Linked DNA regions of Homo sapiens: region 2 is linked to region 1. Evidence: promoter capture Hi-C in 16 types of primary human blood cells and fetal thymus (Javierre and others, 2016). All regions are on one chromosome and are shown on one strand. Each heading gives the region's core, a stretch centred on a gene start or on the middle of the fragment in contact. The rest is flanking DNA. Distances are from core to core; before and after follow the strand shown.

Evidence for each region. Contacts are between HindIII fragments. The CHiCAGO score rates a contact against its expected background, and 5 or more counts as called.
Region 2: a fragment that was not itself captured here is called in contact with the fragment with the promoter of TAS1R1 in region 1 in 1 of 17 cell types (neutrophils); the score reaches 5.3 in neutrophils.

What each region holds. Positions count from the first base shown.
Region 1 is chr1:6,552,880-6,559,168 of GRCh38, forward strand. TAS1R1 (taste 1 receptor member 1) reads left to right here and starts at 2,428. Exons shown (of 6, transcript NM_138697.4): 1 at 2,428-2,685. The coding sequence starts at 2,495. NOL9 (nucleolar protein 9) reads right to left here and starts at 1,634. Exons shown (of 12, transcript NM_024654.5): 1 at 1,228-1,634. The coding sequence starts at 1,623. RefSeq lists a silencer at 1,340-1,599. The HindIII fragment of the contact is 19,423 bases long and covers 1,923-6,289 here.
Region 2 is chr1:6,776,852-6,783,140 of GRCh38, forward strand. No RefSeq gene overlaps it. Among named protein-coding and RNA genes, the nearest start is that of CAMTA1-DT, 5.0 kb to the right of the region's middle. The HindIII fragment of the contact is 1,738 bases long and covers 1,854-3,591 here.

The sequences.
Region 1 (6,289 bases), core at 1,178-3,677:
TGGCTCACTGCAACCTCCAGCTCCCGGGTTCAAGCAAGTCTCCTGCCTTAGCCTCCTGAGTAGCTGGGATTACAGGCGTGTGCTACCATGCCCAGCTAATTTTTGTATTTTTAGTAGAGATGAGGTTTCACCATGTTGGTCAGGCTGGTCTCAAACTCCTGACCTCAGATGATCTGCCAGCTTCGGCTTCCCAAAGTGCCGGGACTACAGGCCTGAGCCACCGCGCCTGGCCCATACTTTATATTTTTAAACTAAGATCATACCCCATGGCAGCTACAGAGAAAGCATGGTGACCGTGAACTCGGCTCTGTGCTCCTGGTTCAGACAGACTCTACCACTCTGTCCTTTTAAAGACCCACAGCTTGCCAAGTCTCTTCCAGAACTTCCTGGGTTTTGCCTTCCCTCCTGCATTAGACAGGGAATCTCCAGGAATGGCATCCACGTTAAGAATCAGGCTGCCTGAGTTCGACTCCTAGCTCTCCCTCTACTGTGTAAGTTACCCAACCTCAGTCTCCTCGTCTGTAAACACTTAGAGAGAGGGACAACTACTCCGTAAGAGAGCTGGATGTTTAAATGGGTTCAAAGCCTAAAACACTTTTGGAACCCTTAAATCCTGGAATTTCTGAGCTCTCAGTAATTGCAACCTTTTTTTTTTTTAACTATTAAAATCCCTTTCAGAGTTCCAGGTGCGGTGGTTCACACCTGTAATCCCAGCACTTTGAGAGGCCGAGGCGGGTGGATCACAAGGTCAGGAGATCGAGACTATCCTGGCTAACATGGCGAAACCCCGTTTCTACTAAAAATACAAAAAATATAGCCGGGCGAGGTGGCACGCGCCTGTAGTCCCAACTACTCCGGAGGCTGAGGCAGGGGAATCGCTTCAACCCGGGATGCGGAGGTTGCAGTGAGCCGAGATTGTGCCACTGCACTCCAGCCTGGGGGACAGAGTGAGACTCTGTCTCAAAAAGAAAAAGAAAGAAAGAAAACAAAACAAAATAAAGTCCCTTTAGCTCGTAAGGCCTAGGGACCCCTTAGCAGGGTACCTGTTACCCTGCTGCTCAGGGGAGCCTAGTTGCCACCAACCATCAAGAGGATGGACTTGAATCCGACTGGCAGCCAGAGAACAGGCCCGGGGGACCACGGTCCTCTCCTACCCTGCAGCTCTCCCGGGGCTGCCTCTCCAGCCCTCCCTGCCCTCGGGGACTACTACCGGCGCCCCCCACCTACCTGCTCGACCGGCAGCAGCAGCAACGCGCGGCCGGGGCCCACGGGCCGCACCGGTGGGATGAGGAGAGGCCGGTGGCAACTCGAGGCGGATTCGAGTTCGGGTTCGGACTCGGGTTCGGAGGCCGGGGTCGGGCTAGGGATCGGGCTGGGGGTCGCGGTGTTGGGTCTCCGGGCCGCCGCCGCGCGCGACACCTGGCGGGCTCCCTCCCTCCAGTCCACGCCGGACGCCTGGGCTTGCAGTAACCGCCACCGTAGGCGCCGCCGACCGCACCAGCGCAGGCTCCCGAGCCGGCGGCGGGGCCGGCGGCTGAGGATGAGCTGGGGCCGGGCCTTGCGGACCCGCAGCCAAGTGGAACGGCAGGAACCCCGCTTTAGCAGCAGTCCCGAGTCCGCCATGCTGGGTCCTCAGGGCCTACCGCGCGAGAATCTCGCGAGATCCCGTCGGTCCGCCCCGCTGCCCTCCCAGCTGCCGAAAAGAGGGGCCTCCGAGCCGCCGGCGCCCTCTGCCGGCAACCTCCGGAAGCACACTAGGAGGTTCCAGCCGATCTGGTCGAGGGGCTCCACGGAGGACTCCATTTACGTTACGCAAATTCCCTACCCCAGCCGGCCGGAGAGAGAAAGCCAGAAACCTCGCGACCAGCCATGGGCCACCTCTCCGGAAAAACACCGGGATATTTTTTTTCTCCTGCAGAAAAAGCTTTAGGATTGGCAGTTTAAACAAAACATGTCTATTTGCATACCTTCGGTTTGCATGCATTTGTTTCGAAGTGAGCAACCCTGGGTAACAAGGCGAAAGTATATGACAATTTGCTCAGAATCTTAATGTCAGAAAACTGGAGACTGGGGCAGGGGGGTGTCGACTCAAAGCTGTGTCTCATTTAGTAAACTGAGGCCCAGGTAAAAAGTTCTGAAACCTCGCAACACCCGGAGAAATTGTGTTCCAGCCTCCCACCTCGCCCCAAAATGCCAGAGCTCCTTTTCTAAGCCAGGTGAAGTCACAGAGCGTGGACAGAACCCACAACCGTCCAGAGGAAGGGTCACTGGGTGCCACCTGGTTTGCATCTGTGCCTTCGTCCTGCCCAGTTCCTGAGTGGGACCGCAGGCCCGGAATGTCAAGGCAAACAGTCCTGCTTCAGCCACTGGGCTCCAGTCCCACCCCTTTTGGGGGCCTGAAGTTAGGAAGCATCCGGCAGCTGCCTTCTATTTAAGCAACTGGCCTCCTTAGAGGCCACTCCTTGGCCATGCCAGGCGCGGGCATCTGGCCAGCATGCTGCTCTGCACGGCTCGCCTGGTCGGCCTGCAGCTTCTCATTTCCTGCTGCTGGGCCTTTGCCTGCCATAGCACGGAGTCTTCTCCTGACTTCACCCTCCCCGGAGATTACCTCCTGGCAGGCCTGTTCCCTCTCCATTCTGGCTGTCTGCAGGTGAGGCACAGACCCGAGGTGACCCTGTGTGACAGGTGAGTGAGGGGCCAGCAGAGCCACACTTAGTGGGACCCCTGGCTATAGGGCCCCTCTGGCTGCCATCCTCCAAACAGGACCTTGCCTCTGCCTTTGCCCCTTGAACTGTCCCCAGGCCTTGTTCATCAATCCACTTGCCACCTAAGTGCTGGCTAGACCTTCCTAGACACTTCGGCCAGTTTCCAATTATTTCACCCTTGCTGTTAGAATGTGTTGTATTGTAACTTCATTGAAATTGGTTCTTGGCTTTGTACCATACCTAGGTGGCCAGGCCTAAGCAAGGGCAGCTTTTTCCCTCTTCTTTTTTTTTTTTTTTTTTTTTTTGAGACGGAGTCTCGCTCTTTCACCCAGGTGGGACTGCAGTGGCGCGATCTCAGCTCACTGCAAGCTCCGCCTTCCGGGTTCACGCCATTCTCCTGCCTCAGCCTCCCGAGTAGCTGGGACTACAGGCACCCGCCACTGCGCCCAGCTAATGTTTTGTATTTTTAGTAGAGACGGGGTTTCACCGTGTTAGCCAGAATGGTCTCGATCTCCTGACCTCGTGATCTGCCCACCTCGGCCTCCCAAAGTGCTGGGATTACAGGCGTGAGCCACCGCGCCCAGCCGCTTTTTCCCTCTTCTATCTTCTCTCCACTCCTACCCATGTTCAAAGTTCCCTAGAGTCCCAGATGACAAGTAGGATTCTCCATGGTTCTTCATGGGGTGGGAAGGGAAGACACATCCCATTAGATGCTTTAGGAGCTTGACAAATATAAATTAGGTTGGTGCCATCATGAAGTCAACAATCTAGGTAGAGGGAAACTACTGCTTTTCTTTTATTTCTATCTATCTATCTATCTATCTATATTTTTTTGAGATGGAGACTCAGTCTGTCATCCAGGCTGGAGTGCAGTGGCATAATCTTGACTCACTGCAACCTCCTCCTCCTGGGCTCAAGTGATTCTCATGCCTTAGCCTCGGGAGTAGCTGGAATTATAGGCATGTGTCACCATACCCAGCTAATTTTTGTATTTTTCGTAGAGACAGGGGTTTCACCATGTTGGTCAGGCTGGTCTCGAACTCCCGACCTCAGGTGATCCGCCCACCTCGGCCTCCCAAAGTGCTAGGATTATAGGCTTGAGCCACCGCGCCCGGCCTGCTTTTCTTTTAAAGAAGACAGTTGCAGCCGAGCACAGTGGCTCACGCCTGTAATCCCAGCACTTTGGGAGGCTGAGACAGGCGGATCACGAGGTCAGGAGTTCAAGATCAGTCTGGCCAACATAGTGAAACCCTGTCTCTACATAAAATACAACACATTAGCCGGGTGTGGTGGTGTGCACCTGTAATCCCAGCTACTCAGGAGCCTGAGGCAGGAGAATCGCATGAACCCGGAGGTGGAGGTTGCAGTGAGCCAAGATCACACCATTGCATTCCAACCCGGGCGACAGAGCGAGGCTCCATCTCAAAAAAAAAAAAAAAAAAAAAGACGAAGACAGTTGCTTGCAGACTGTGGAAGTCACAGACCCAGAGGCCCAAGAATGCTGCCGAGGCTTGGCTGCAGGATGTCCTACCCATGAAGCACACGAGATGGTTGGCTCAGGAAGAAGTTTCTGGAAATCTAGTGTATGACGACCTACTCGAAGGGCTACAGCTAGAAACCTGGATAAAGAGATAAAGAGAATGGGCTGGGAAGAGAGATTGGGTAGAGCAGGAGGAGGGAAGACATGAAAACCGGCTTCAGATACCTGAAGAATTGTCTCAGGCAGGAGGCACGAACCCTCCGTTGAGAGACTCGGGACAGAAGTGGTAGAAACCATGGAAGACCTTCTAACAAGCAAGAGGCTGGAAAATGGAACAGGCTAGCACACTTTATGTATTTGTTTGTTTATTTGTTTATTTATAGAGATGAGGTCTTGCTCTTTCCCCCAGGCTGGAGTGTAGTGGTGCAATCATAGCTCACTGCAGCCTTACTTGGGCCTCATTGAAGCTCAAGTGATTCTCCTGCCCCAGCCTCCCAAGTAGCTGGGACTACAGGCATGCACCACCACTCCTGGCTAATTTTTTAATTTTTTGTTGAGAAGGTGGTCTCACTGTGTTGCTCAGGCTGGTCTCAAACTCCTGGTCTCAAGTGATTCTCCTGCCTGGGCCTCCCACAGCATTGGGATTCTAGGTGAGCCACTGGGCCAGCCATTACAAAAAAGTTTTTTTGAGCTGGGATCTCACTATGTTGTCCAGGCTAGTCTCCACCTCCTGGGATCAAGCAATCCTCCATCCTCAGCCTCCTGAGTAGCTAGGACTACAGGCATGGGCCACTGCACCTGGCTTAGCCTGCTCTTTAAACGGGGCTGAATCCTGTCCCTGGCTCATTCCTGGTGGGCTCCAGACAGGAGTTGCTGAAGTAGGGGTGATAAGGCATATAGGCCCTCAACACATTCATAAGTGTCCTGGTGAGAAGCACTAATTAAACAAGGTTAAGCAGGTGTAGTGGTTAGTTTTTGTTTTTGTTTTTGTTTTTTTTCTGAGACAGGGTCTTCCTCTTTTGCTCATACTGGAGTCCAGTGGTACAATCATAGCTCACTGCAGCTTTGCTTGGGCCTCAGTGAGGCCCTAGCCTCCTTACTAGCTGGAACTACAGGCATATGCCACCACTTACCGCTAATTTTTTAAATTTTTTATAGAGACAGGGTCTCACTACATTGCCCAAGCTGGTCTCAAATTCTTGAGCTCAAGCAGTCCTCTCACAGTGCTAGGCCTCCCAGAGTGCTAAGATTATAGGTGTGAGCCGTGGTGGTGAATTTTGCGTGTCAGATTGTCTAGGCTATAGTGCCTAGAGTTGTGTAGTCAAACATCAGTCCAGCTGTTGCCATGAAGGTATTTTTAATTTATTTATTTTGGCCGAACGTGGTGGTTCATGCCTGTCATCCCAGCACTTTGGGAGGCCAAGGGAGGCAGATCACTTGAGGTTGGGAGTTCCAGACCAGCCTGGCCAACATGGTGAAACCCCGCCTCTACTAAAAATACAAAAATTAGCCAGGCTTAGTGGCTGGTGCCTGTAATCCTGGCTACTTGGGAGGCTGAGGCACAAGAATCACTTGAACCGGGGTGGCAGAGGTTGCAGTGAGCCGAGATCGTGCACTCCAGCCTGGGTTAGAGTCTCCAGCGAGACTCAGTCTAAAAAAAAATATATATATTTTGAGACAGTCTCCCTCCGTCATCCAGCCTGGAGCCAACTGCTGCGATCTTGGCTCACTGCAACCTCTGCCTCCCAGATTCAGGCGATCCTCCTGCCTCAGCCTCCCAAGTAGCTGGGATCACAGACATGTGCCAGCATGCCCGGCTAATTTTTGTACTTTTTTTTTTTTTTTGAGATGGAGTCTCGCTCTGTCGCCCAGGCTGGAGTGCAGTGGCGCGATCTCGGCTCACTGCAAGCTCCGCCTCCTGGTTTCACATCATTCTCCTGCCTCAGCCTCCGGAATACCTGGGACTACAGGCGCCCGCCACCACGCCCAGCTAATTCTTTGTATTTTTTTAGCAGAGACGGGGTTTCACCATGTTAGCCAGGATGGTCTCAATCTCCTGACCTCGTGATCCACCCGCCTCGGCCTCCCAAAGTGCTGGGATTAC
Region 2 (6,289 bases), core at 1,473-3,972, 220 kb after region 1:
ATTATGGCATAGCGATCCTTTTAAAACACCAGGGAGATAACATTCCCAGCTAAATACCTTACATTGTTTTCCTAGCACCCTCAGAGTTAAATCCAAATATTTTGCCATGGAGTTGGAGGTCCTGTGTGGCCTGCTGATTCCTCCCTGGATTCACATGTCAGCAGTCCTTCCACACCTCCCTGCAGTTCCTACAGGACACTGACTGTGCACCTGCCACCCCACCCATAACCGCGTGGCTCACTCTCACTTCCTTCAGGTCTCGGAGAGAACTTCCTGACTCACTCTTCTAAAATAGCCTTCTTGGCTGGGCACGGTGGCTTATGCCTGTAATTCCAACACTTTGAGAGGTCAAGGCGGGCGGATCACCTGAGGTCAGGAGTTTGAGACCAGCCTGGCCAACATAGTGAAACCCCATCTCTACTAAAAATACAAAAAATTAGCCGGGTGTGGTGGCGTGCGCCTGTAATCCCAGTGACTCAGGAAGCTGAGGCAGGAGAATCGCTTGAACCCAGGAGGCGGAGGTTGCAGTGAGCTGAGATCGTGCGCTGCACTCCAGCCTGGGTGACAGAGCGAGACTCCATCTCAAAACAAAAAAAACAAAAAAAAACAAACAAAAAAAACCTTCTCATCATCTCACCCTTTCACATTATTTTTCTTCAAGCATTTATCATTATCTAAAGTTCAAATGTATATTTGTTTGTCTCTCCCACCTCCACATGAGCTCCACAAAGGCAGAGATTTTTGTCTGTTTTGTTCACTGCTGTATTCCCCGCACCTAGAATTAGTATCTGGTATGTCATAGGCACCCAATAATTATTTGTTGGATAGATGCATATGGTAAAAACATTTAAACCATATCAAATGAAGAGTAAGGGTTTTTTTTTTCTGCTCCATCCTCAGAGGTAATAGATTTCCTGTTGTCCTTCTGGAAATCTTTTCTGCATATAGAAGAATATATATACAATAAACCTTGTATCCATTTTTCACATCCAGAGGAAAATAATGTACATTATGTTGTGTGGCTTACCTTCTTTCAGTTAGACGTTTAAGCTGGAGATCTTTTCATAGCAGCACACACTGAGTTACCTTTACTTCTTTTTTTTTTAAATTTAAGACAGTTTCGCTCTGTTGCCCAGGCTGGAGTGCAGGCTGGAGTGCAGTGGTGTGATCTCGGTTCATTGCAACTTCCGCCTTCCAGTTCAAGCAATTGTGCCTCAGCCTCCTGAGTAGCTGGGATTGCAGGTGCATGTCACCATGCCAGCTAATTTTTGCATTTTTAGTACAAACGGGGTTTTGCCATGTTGGCCAGGCTGGTCTCAAACTCCTGACCTCCAGTGATCTGCTCGGCTTGACGTCCCAAAGTGTTGGGATTACAGGCGTGAGCCACCGCACCTGGCCATACCTCCATTTTTTAAATGGCTGCATAATATCCCACAGCTTAATACTTAAAGAAAAAATAAATTGCTTGTCCAGTTTGAAAAATGGAAAGCCTAATGATGGTGAAATGCCTCTGCGCCCACACCCTTTTCATTTATACCCGTAGATGGTAGCGGTCTGGTTTTCCTTGGGTGCTCCTCAGTGGTTTCCAAAGACTATGATGGGACAACTCAGCAGCGTTTCCCGTCAGGCACTTTGATAGGTCATTTTACTTTCAACAACTAAACAAAGTTTCCTGGGAAGACTGAGAGTCAAAAGAAACTACATTTGAAAGTGTGGCGTAAATAAGAAAACAAAAAAACAAAACTTGACTTGAGCAGTCTTACAATCTCCCTAAGCTGCATGGAGTGCAAGTGGGTTTGCTGTGCAGATGCTAGAGTCCCCTGGCCCCTCCCTCCAATCAGATTACTGCCCCAAGCTTTCTCTATACAGAGATTTCGGGGGGTTCCACTACTGAGGTCTCTCTGGGTCTCAGGAAGTAGAGGGGTGATCCTGGTCTACGAAATGCATTAATGTCCGTGGTCAGGAAGTTCTTTGTATTTGTCCATCTGAACCAGCAAAGCCCAATCTCTCCAACCTTTTCTCCCTTTAGAAAAGATCCATTTCTGCCGGGCGTGGTGGCTCACACCTGTGAGGGGTGAGCACTTTGGGAGGCCGAGGTGGGAGGATTACAAGGTCAAGAGATCGAGACCATCCTGCCCAACATGGTGAAACCCCGTCTCTACTAAAAATACAAAAATTAGCTGGGCGTGGTGGCACACGCCTGTAGTCCCAGCTACTCGGTAGGCTGAGGCAGGAGAATCTCTTGAACCCATGAGGCAGAGGTTGCAGTGAGCCGAGATCGTGCCACTGCACTTCAGCCTGGGTGACAGAGTGAAACTCTGTCCCCTTCCACCAAAGAAAAACCAAAACAAAAAGAAAAGAACCATTTCTTTGATCATGGGTTCAAATGCAATAAAAACTATCAGGCTGTAATACCAGAAGGCTCAAGAGGGAGTGGAAAGCCTCCAGTTTCAAAGGGAAAGTCCAGAAAAAACTGGACTGATTCTTAAAAGTAGTGTATGAAGGTGAGATACATTCCACTGAAGGCATTTAGGTATCACTCCAAGGAGGGTCTCTGGAGAGCAAGTGCACTTGGGCGTGTTTTATGTAATAGCTGGATGATGAGGGCAAGTATTATGATTATAACTATTGCTTAAATAATATCTCCTGAAACCCCAATGAAAAAAGATAATGGTCTGTTCTAGGTTTTAATTGCTAAAAGGAAAACAAAACTGTCATTCGTGGTGTGGTTGGTTCTCAGACCTACTGCTGTCAGTAAATACTGAACAAATGAAACTACAGATTCATTTCAAAATTTCAACAGATTCCTGGGCCACAAAGCCTTTCCCTTTCGTGTTCAAATGATATTTTTTTATTTTTATTTTTTGAGACAGACGTCTGCTCTGTCACCCAGGCTGGAGTGCAGTGGCTGGATCTTGGCTCACTGCAACCTCTGCCTCCTGGGTTCAAGCGATTCTTGTACCTGAACCTCCTGAGTAGCTGGGACTACAGGCATGCGCCACCACGCCTTGCTAACTGTTATATTTTTAGTAGAGATAGGGTTTTGCCATGTTACCCAGGCTGGTCTTAAACTCCTGGCCTCAAGTGATTTGCCCAGCTCGACCTCCCAAAGCGTTGGGATTACAGGCATGAGCCATCTCACCTGGCCGATATTTCAAGTAAGTTGAAATTCAGGCCTACTAGGCCCAAATATCTCATTATATTTGGGGTATCCAACAAATCTTTACTCTTGCATATTAACAGTAGACATTCTGAGATTATAATGCCTGACGTAATTGGGATGCAGAGAAGAGGAAAGGTGACCATTTGCAGGATAGGAAAACAGGGACCATCTGGTGAAGGGTTGGTTCCAACAAAGTCCACAAGTTTTCATTGTTTCATCTTGAAAAGGTAAGGGGACATAGGAGCTCTCTGTATGATTTCTTATCACTGCATGTGAATCTAATTATCTCAAAATTAAAAAAATAGTTAAAGACAAGGGGAGAAACTTTTTGGAAATGGAACTTTTGAATATTATTACTTTTAACCATGCAGCCCCTTGGTGGCTAAAGGAGGCACAGGTTTTTTGTTGCCCTGTGCAGGGGTAAAATAAGCTTGGGATGATGAGCTTCTCTTTTATTTTTTTGAGACGGAGTCTCGCTTTGTCTTCCAGGCTGGAGTGCAGTGGCATAATCTTGGCTCACTGCAACTTCCTCCTCCCAGGTTTAAGCAATTCTCCTGCCTCAGCCTCCCCGGTAACTGGGATTACAGGCGCGTGCCACCATGCCCAGCTAAATTTTTATTTTTAGTTAGAGATGGGGTTTCACCATCTTGGCCAGGCTGGTCTTGAACTCCTAACCTCGTGATCCACCCGCCTTGGCTTCCCAAAGTGCTGGGATTACACGTGTGAGCCACTGTGCCCGGCCTGAGCTTCTAAGTGTTTAAGCTTCTGAAATGGGTTTACTCCATGCTTTCCTCTCCCAATCCAGTAATATGGAAGCTTCGGTAACTTCCAATTTAAGGAAGCAAGTCCAAGCACTTTTATTTTTATCACCACCAGTAATATAAACAGCCACTTTACTTTGGAAAGCTGACCAGGAAGAAGCCTCTTTTGCACCTCTTTGGGGTCAAAAAGTAACAATTTAATATTCCCACTATTTCCCTTATATGTTCTGTTTCTGGACAGTAAAATTCTTTCCTTGAAGGACATTAGGGCCAAAATGGGCAAGGATTCCGAGATTGGTACATCGAGCGTTATCTTCCAACTCTCTTTTCTAAATGGGCTCATTTAGTAATGCAAGCTGCTTCCTTTACTTGAAATGCCCATCTCTTGGTTACCCTCCCAAGCAAACAGAAACACCAACCAGCCAGCCCCAAAAAGATCTCATTCTCTAGCCCAGTGGTTCCCAAACTCTTGAGTCTCAAGATCTTTTTCCACACTTAAAATTTAAGGATTCAAGCTGGGCGCGGTGGCTCACGCCTGTAATCCCAGCACTTTGGGAGGCTGACGCCAGCGGATAACGAGGTCAGGAGTTTGAGACCAGCCTGACCAACATGGTGAAACCCCGTCTCTACTAAAAATACAAAAATTAGCCAGGTATGGTGGCGGGTGCCTGTAATCCCAGATACTCAAGAGGTGAGGCAGGAGAATCGCTTGAACCCGGGAGGCAGAGGTTTCAGTGAGCCGAGATCGTGCCACTGCACTCCAGCCTGGGCAACAGAGTAAGACTCCGTTGGAGACCATCACGGACAACGTGGCAAAACCTCATCTCTACAAAAAATACAGGTGGGCATGGTGGCGCCCACCTGTATTCCTAGCTACTCAAGAGGCTAATTGCTTGAGCCCAGGAGGTTAAAGCTGCAGTGAGCCTTGATTGCACGGCACTCCAGCCTGGGCAACAGAGTGAGACCCTATCTCAAAAGAACAACAAAAAAGAGAATAAACCCATTACATGTCAACATAAATCCTATTTTTATGAGAAATACCTACATTTTCTAAAATAAAATTAGTGGTAAGTGTGAGATTGTTTTAGTTTTGCAAATCACTTTAATATCTGACAGTAGAAGACTGCTGGATTCTTCTCTGCTTCTGAATCTTCTGCATTCAGCCTGTTGTGAGATCACGTATCTTGCAGCCTCTGGAAAACACTGCACACAGAGTGCAGTGTTGGGAGAAATTGACATATCATTGCTATAAAAATAGTTCTGAAGTCAGGTGTGGTGGCTTATGCCTGTAATCCGTGCACTTCAAGAGGCTGAGGTGGGAGGATCACTCGAGCTCAGGAGTTTGAGACCAGCCTGGGCAACAAGGTGAGACCCTGTCTCTACAAAACTTAAAAATTAGCTGGGCATGGTGGTGCATGCTTGTGGTTCTAGCTACCGGGGAGGCTGAGGTGGGAGGATTACTGCAGCCCAGGAGTTCGAGGCTACAGTGAGCTTTGATGGCACTACTGCACTCCAGCCTGGGCGACAGAGCAGGACCCTGTCTAAAAAAGTTTTGACTTTTGGGTCCCTTGAGTCTTGGGGCTCCCTCTGCTCGACCAAGGTCCCTAGAGAACCACTGTTTTGAGAACCACTGTTGTGGCCTGAGGCTAAGGTAATTTCAATGGTGATGGTGTTGAGGCCCAGGTGATGTTTGTGACCTTCTCCGGTGTTCCCATCGCACCTGTCCTGCTGCTGCTTATGTTTGTGAACCTGGCCAAGTTGGGAGTCTCTTGAAGGAAGACACTCAACTTTATTCACCTTTCTTTCAATTTAAATGAGTGTTTTAATGATAAAAGTAACATAGAGGCCAGGCGTGGTGGCTCATGCCTGTAATCCCAGCACTTTGGGAGGCTGAGGCAGGCGCATCACTGGAGGTTGGGAGTTTGAGACCACCCTGACCAACATGGAGAAACCCTGTCTCTATTAAAAATACAAAATTAGCTGAGCATGGTGGCGCATGCCTGTAATCCCAGCTACTCTGGAGGTTGAGGCAGGAGAATCGCTTGAACCCGGGAGGCAGAGGTTGCGGTGAGCCGAGATTGCGCCATTGAACTCCAGCCTGGACAACAAGAGTGAAACTCCATCTCAAAAAAACAAAACAAAAAAAAAACCAAAAAACAACAACAAAAACAGCTATATTATAGAAAATAGGCAATTAAAAAAAACTCACTTATAATCCCCCATACGTCATTTATTTGGTGTATGTTATCAGTCTATTTTTTTTTTTTTTGAGGTGGAGTCTTGCTCTTGTCACCCAAGCTGGAGTGCAGTGGTGCGATATTGGCTCACTGCAACCTCTGCCCGCTGGGTTCAAGCAATTCTCTTG